Regions from separate parts of the Homo sapiens genome. Here region 2 is linked to region 1. The links are contacts of gene promoters, found by promoter capture Hi-C in human tissues and cell types (Jung and others, 2019). All regions are on one chromosome and are shown on one strand. The core of a region is centred on a gene start or on the middle of the fragment in contact, and the rest is flanking DNA. Distances in the headings are between cores, read along the strand shown. Region 1 holds the start of NBEA (neurobeachin). Region 2 has its middle 63 kb from the start of RFC3.

Evidence for each region. Contacts are between HindIII fragments. The study calls those that stand out against the background at their distance.
Region 2: a fragment that was not itself captured here is called in contact with the fragment with the promoter of NBEA in region 1 in 1 of the 25 tissues and cell types used here (dorsolateral prefrontal cortex).

The regions. Positions count from the first base shown.
Region 1 is chr13:34,940,743-34,943,654 of GRCh38, reverse strand. It overlaps NBEA (neurobeachin), which reads right to left and starts at 1,385. Exons shown (of 59, transcript NM_001385012.1): 1 at 541-1,385. The coding sequence starts at 834. LOC124903231 (a long non-coding RNA gene) reads left to right here and starts at 1,465. Exons shown (of 2, transcript XR_007063908.1): 1 at 1,465-1,515; 2 at 1,953-2,334. RefSeq lists silencers at 894-1,013, 1,454-1,523 and an enhancer at 1,694-1,803. The HindIII fragment of the contact is 6,257 bases long and covers 1-2,912 here.
Region 2 is chr13:33,753,388-33,756,299 of GRCh38, reverse strand. No RefSeq gene overlaps it. Among named protein-coding and RNA genes, the nearest start is that of RFC3, 63 kb to the left of the region's middle. The HindIII fragment of the contact is 6,252 bases long and covers 1-2,912 here.

The DNA.
Region 1 (2,912 bases), core at 136-2,635:
TGGAATATTTAAAGACAGATGCAAAACTGCATCATTTTCTGTCTCCTTCGAAAACATCACACCCCAGCTGCTCAAGTTGGAAGCTAATGCGCTTCTCACATTTCAGCAGCACGGGGGAATTTAGGCTCCAGGGGCAAGGCTGTCATCCTCGGAGAGCGACACCAAGGACAATTAAGTGTGAGAAAAAGAACCCCAGAGAACAGGAGGCCTCCTCACCTCCTAACTAAACTCTAAAGTCGACCCAAAACCTTCACCGCGGGTACTGGGTTACTCGCGGTCCTAAAAAGTGAGAAGAAGCGGTGTTAAGTTGGGCACTGCGCTCAGGTGGCAGGAGAGGACCAGAAAGAGGAGAGGAGGGAGGTGGCGTGGCTCTAGCAGCGCGCAGGCAGGTCACCCGCTGGGCAATACCGGCTGAACGCTCTGCGCTCCCAGGGACGCGCGGCGCGTGTGACCCTGGGGGTGAAGGGTGGGAGGGAAAGGCGCTGGGGACGGTGTATGTGGGGACTGGGGAAGCAGATTGAGAGCACGCCTTTTCCTTACCAGGTTGAGCACCGTCTCCACGATGTCCCTGTTGCTGACCTCTCCGACCTGTATGAGTCCAATCAACACTGCGAATTTCATCCGGATGTTGCGGATCGGCACCGAAGGGTTAATCATCCCCGCGGGGAGCATCACCGAGCCGGAGCCGGACGCCCCCCTTAGCTCCCCCATCCCGCTGCCCCCGGTGCCGCCACCACCGCTGCCCCCGCCGCCTCCGCCAGCGGCCCCGACGGCAATGAGCCCCACGGGCTGAGGCTCGAGCCCCGGGCCCGGGCCCGGCTTCTCGCTAGCCATTGGCCCCCCTCCTGAGGAGAAGGGAAGAGCAGCGGCGCTGCCGCCGCCGGTACCGTTATACCTGCCTCGGCCCCCGCCCCCCGGCCGTCGCCTCGGAGCCCCAGCATCCACCAGCGCCGCGGCGCCGGGCCCGCTCCCCGCCTGCGCCTCAGCCCGGCCCGCTCCGGCGCTCTCCCCCGCGGAGGCGGCGGGGGATCCGCAGGCTTATTCTCGGCGGTGGCGGTACCGCTAACCGCTGCCGGGCAAGCGGCTGTGCCCGCCCAGCAGGTGTGCCGCTGCCGCTGCCGCTGCCGCCGCCGCTGCCTCTGCTCTCTCCCTCTCCCGGTCTGTCCGGCCCGGCCCGCCCCCCGCGGAGATGCTGCAGCCGCTCCGAGAAGCCCGAGGACGCGAGCAGCTGGCCACGACGCTGGCCGGTGCTGAAGCTCAGGCTGTGGCCGATGCTATTGACGCTGCTGCCGCCGCTGCTACGGCCACCACTGTTGTTGTGAAGCCCCGACGCCGCCGCTCACTCCGCCATGTTGCCGCCCCCTGCCTGCGGTAGCAGCCACTGCGCCTGCGCACAGCCTCCGGGGGGGCGGAGCCCTCGGTGCACCCCCTCTTTTGCCCTGCCCTCCTTCTCTTCCCACCCACCCACCCCGACACCCCTCGTCCCTCCCCCAACCACCCCGAACGGATAGACAGGTGAGCAGGTGCATGGGGACTGCTGCCAGACACTGGGGCAAGCTGGCAGAGGCGGGGCGGGTAGTGGCTTCCTTGTGGTTTTTCCCTTGAGGGCGGATTCTCCCTTTGGGGAAGGACACAGTGTGCATGTCTTGCCTTCGCTGCCACCTCCTCCTTCTCTCAATATCCTCTTGCTGGGAGGAGGTTCCTCATCTCAGTTGTTGCATCCAGCTGCTGCTACTGCCAGTGCCACGTGCCTTGTAAGGTAGGGGAGTGGCAGACGACCTCTTTCTGCCCCTCCTCGCCCTTCCTCGCAGTCCTGTCCGCCTGCCCTCCCTAGAATTTCCCAAAGAAAAAGTGGCTGGCAAAGCAGAAACAAACGCGCGGGGGGGCGGGGGGGCGATCCTGCATTGTCGGGGGAAGAATACAGACGGAGTGTAATGGTGCTTTTTCTACAGCCATGAAAGAGGCTGACACCTGCACACTCAGGCACGACTTAAAATAGAACTTGTCAAACAGTGATCCTCTCTGGATCAAGCTCGGAACAACAAACAGCTCTTGAACTCGCCTCCCAGCCTAAAAAGACTGCAGTGTGTGACACTGTGGGGTAGTTTGGTGGGAACGACAAATCCCACACTTTCAAAATCCTGACAATCCTCAGGTATGATGCCAATTATTAATGTTTCCTTTTTTCACAGGCACGTACAATTCAGAGGACTTTCGAAATTATCTAAAAACATGGGTGATTCTCACTGCCAGCCTTGTCTGTGAGAAAAGTACATATCTATGTCTGCACAGATACGAGACAAAAAATAAACCTTTAATTTTTAAAAATTAAAATGTACACAGTAATCTTGCTGTTAGTATTGAATTAAAACTAAATAGGCATGACTGTTCCTTGAAAGGAATGATATAATTTTCTTTAATATTTCATGAGGTCTTCCCTTTTCAATAAAGATTATTGCAAGTCACCAGAAATATTAGGTATCTTGAGGTATATTCAGATCGTTTTAATTGTCCTCTCAAATGAAAAAGGTCAATATACAAATCCACCATAATCAGTTTTGTTATTATTCATATTTAATTGGACCTGCCAGTCAAGTTAACTCCCAGGATATGGGAACACGGTAAAATTCTAAGTACCACAGGTTATAAAAAAGTTCCTCAAAACCAGTACTTAGGATGAATTCTTGGTTGCATGTCTGTTTGTTTAAACTTGCACCAAAGTGATTGAATTGTTAAAGTAGTTAAGCAAACACTTCTGAAAGCAGTGGTAACTAGCATGTCCATTTAAATTAAATGGCAATTGAATTATAAAATGCTAGAATGCTTGAAACTGTACGGGAAATTTACAAAACATACAAGTCATAATAGTATGACTTGAGATATACTATATAATTGAAAAATCCTGTAACGTT
Region 2 (2,912 bases), core at 162-2,661, 1.2 Mb after region 1:
TTGTAATATAGCATGAGAAGGGTAGTTATATATATATATGCACATATATTATATATACATACATATTTTATATATATATACATACACATATGTAAAATATCCAGTTATCATAAAGGAGGGAAGATCAAGCCTACTAAGACAAGTTCTGGAAGTTTTCCTGACAGAAATGACATCTTAGCTGAAGCTTCAGTGATGAATAGTTGGTGATTAATGAGCAAATCATGGGGAAGGAGAAGATAATTATCCTAGGAAGATAGCACAGCATCACAAGAACAAGCACAGAGACATGGAACATCATGGATGGAAATAGATGTGCCAGGGGAATGTGTTGAAACATGTGGTTAGGGAGGCAGGCAGGTTGCAGATTACGTAGGGCCCACCCAGCATGACATTCTGAGGAGCTAGCACTCAATTCCACAGCCAAGAGTTCTAAGCCTAAAGTCAACACAATTATATTTGTGTTTTTAGAAGCCCACCAATGTGGCAGGAGGATGATCAGAGAATGAGAATTGTCCTGACACTTATTTTGCAAATGATAAGGCAGGAACTTTTAAATAATGCCAGACAGTGCCACAAGAAATTCAGAGAAAGAGGTAGACGTAAGAAAGAGTCATGAAGCAAATCCACAGAACTTGGAGGTGAGTAGTGATGGGGTGGTGATGAGTATTACACCAGGCTATTAGCATCTCATTAACACTTCTTAGATCCCCTAGACAAGTTCTTCTGCACTTCAGCATCTCAAAATCACCTGAGGAGCTGTTTAAAACCCTCAAGCCCAGATGCATGAAGTCAAAAATCTCTGGAAGTGGGAGGCCATGTCATTATGATTCCAATGTGCAGTGAAGGCTGAGAAGTACTGGTGTAGATGAAGACTCTTCCTCTAAGTTATTTGGGAAGAAAACGAGAGCTTAAATGACCCATCCAAAGTCACAGATAATGGGAAATAAAATCCAGGCCTCCCATTTCCCAGCCCAGTGGTCTGACCACCAGATTGAATTACACCTAAGAACATCAGCAGATCGTTAACCAGCACTGACAAACCAGGTCCACGGCATTTATTCATTCACACTCCTGTGTGCCCAATGCTAGCAGAAACTGACCATACTAAGAAACAGCAGATATTTTACTTCTTGAGATGATGATGTTGGTGATGATGACAAATTGCTTAGAAAAACATAATACTCCTAAACGTAAAGCCAAAGAATATACAATGCAAGCTATAATTAATGCTAGAAGCACTTGCTGAAAGAGCTACAAGGAGTTCAGAAAAAACGAGAGTTAACTCTGGAAAAGATCATTCAAGGAGGAGACAAGACTCAGCAGAATGTAAACTTGACATTATGAGTATTTCAAAAGGCAATGAATGACATTTCATAATCTTTCACTAGCAATCCAATTAATTCTGACAGGTATGCACATAAGTTACTTAGTATTGCTTTTGCTAGGGAAGATTTAGTAGATTCAGGGGGCGCTTACTGCCCTTGCACAACTTTTAGTCATAAATCAAAATGTAGATACAGTCATTTTATTAACAGAAGGATTGGGTCAATTGGAGAAAAAATCCAATTAACAGTGAAGGAAGATGAATTATTATTAACAAGTTCATGCAGTTGTGAAGAATACCTTCAAAGTGTTTCTTCACACAGAGTAGATAATCTGTTTAACTGGCATAGTGATAATATTCACTGTGCCTACATGTAAATATCATGAAAGTACAAATTTAATACTCAAGAGTTTATCTGGAGAATCTAAAAAGACCAATTTCCTATAATATTACAATAATTCATCATCCCATAACCATCAGTCCTTCATCCCTCTCTCCTTTGTATGTACATTGAACATAGTTTCATCTTTCCTGTGATATCCTCATCCTTTGAGTTTTAGATGTCAAGGTACAATCTACTGCCTTGTCCACTCCCACAAATACCCACTCCTGTTGGGAGAATCCATGGTGAGTGGTGAAGAGCATGGACACTGGCCTCAGACTACCTGGGTTCAAATCCTGGCTCTATCATTTACTAGCTAGATGATTTTGAGTAATTTATTCAAAATTATTCAACCTCTGTGTGTTTCAGTTTCTTCATCCTTAAAATGAGAATAATAGTATCTACCTCAAAAGGTTGTGGTGAAGATACTTCAATCAGTTAAGACTTGCAAAGTGCTTATAACAATGCCTGAATACAATATGTACTCAATAAATATTGGTTATTATTAGAGTGTCCTGTGCTAGCAAGTGTTCAGTCAATATTGCATGGAACGGTTGTTAAGAGACTGATGACATAGAAATAACGCGAAAGATAAAAGCATAACAACATACACTACAACCAACAAGTCTTGGTCTTGACCAGGCACAGTGGCTCATGCCTGTAATCCCAGCACTTTGGGAGGCCAAGGAGGGTGGATCACCTGAGGTCAGGAGTTCAAGACTAGCTTGGCCAACATGACGCAAACACTAAAAGTACAAAAATTAGCCAGGCGTGGTGGCGTGCACCTGTAATCCCAGCTACTCAGGAGGCTGAGGCAGGAGAATTGCTTGAACCGGGGAGGCTGAGGTTGCAGTGAGCTGAGATCGTGCCACTGCACTCCAGCCTGGGTGACAGAGTGAGACTCTATCTCAAAAAACAAAAAGTCTTAGTCTTTTTCCTGATGAATTTCATACTTGGAGTAAAATTCTAGAGAACTTCTGTAACTTCTCTTTGACTTTTATAGCTATAAAAGAATAATGTTAGTACTTTTTTACCCCTTCATACTGACATTAGGATTAATTCTATAATATTTAGTTTGGTGCAAAAGTAATTGTGGTGCAAAAGTAATTTCCTTTTAACGGCAAAAACGGCAATTACTTTTGCACCAACCTAATATTATAGAATTAATATTTTTGAAACATTTGAAGATTGTGTTTTACAGGTGCA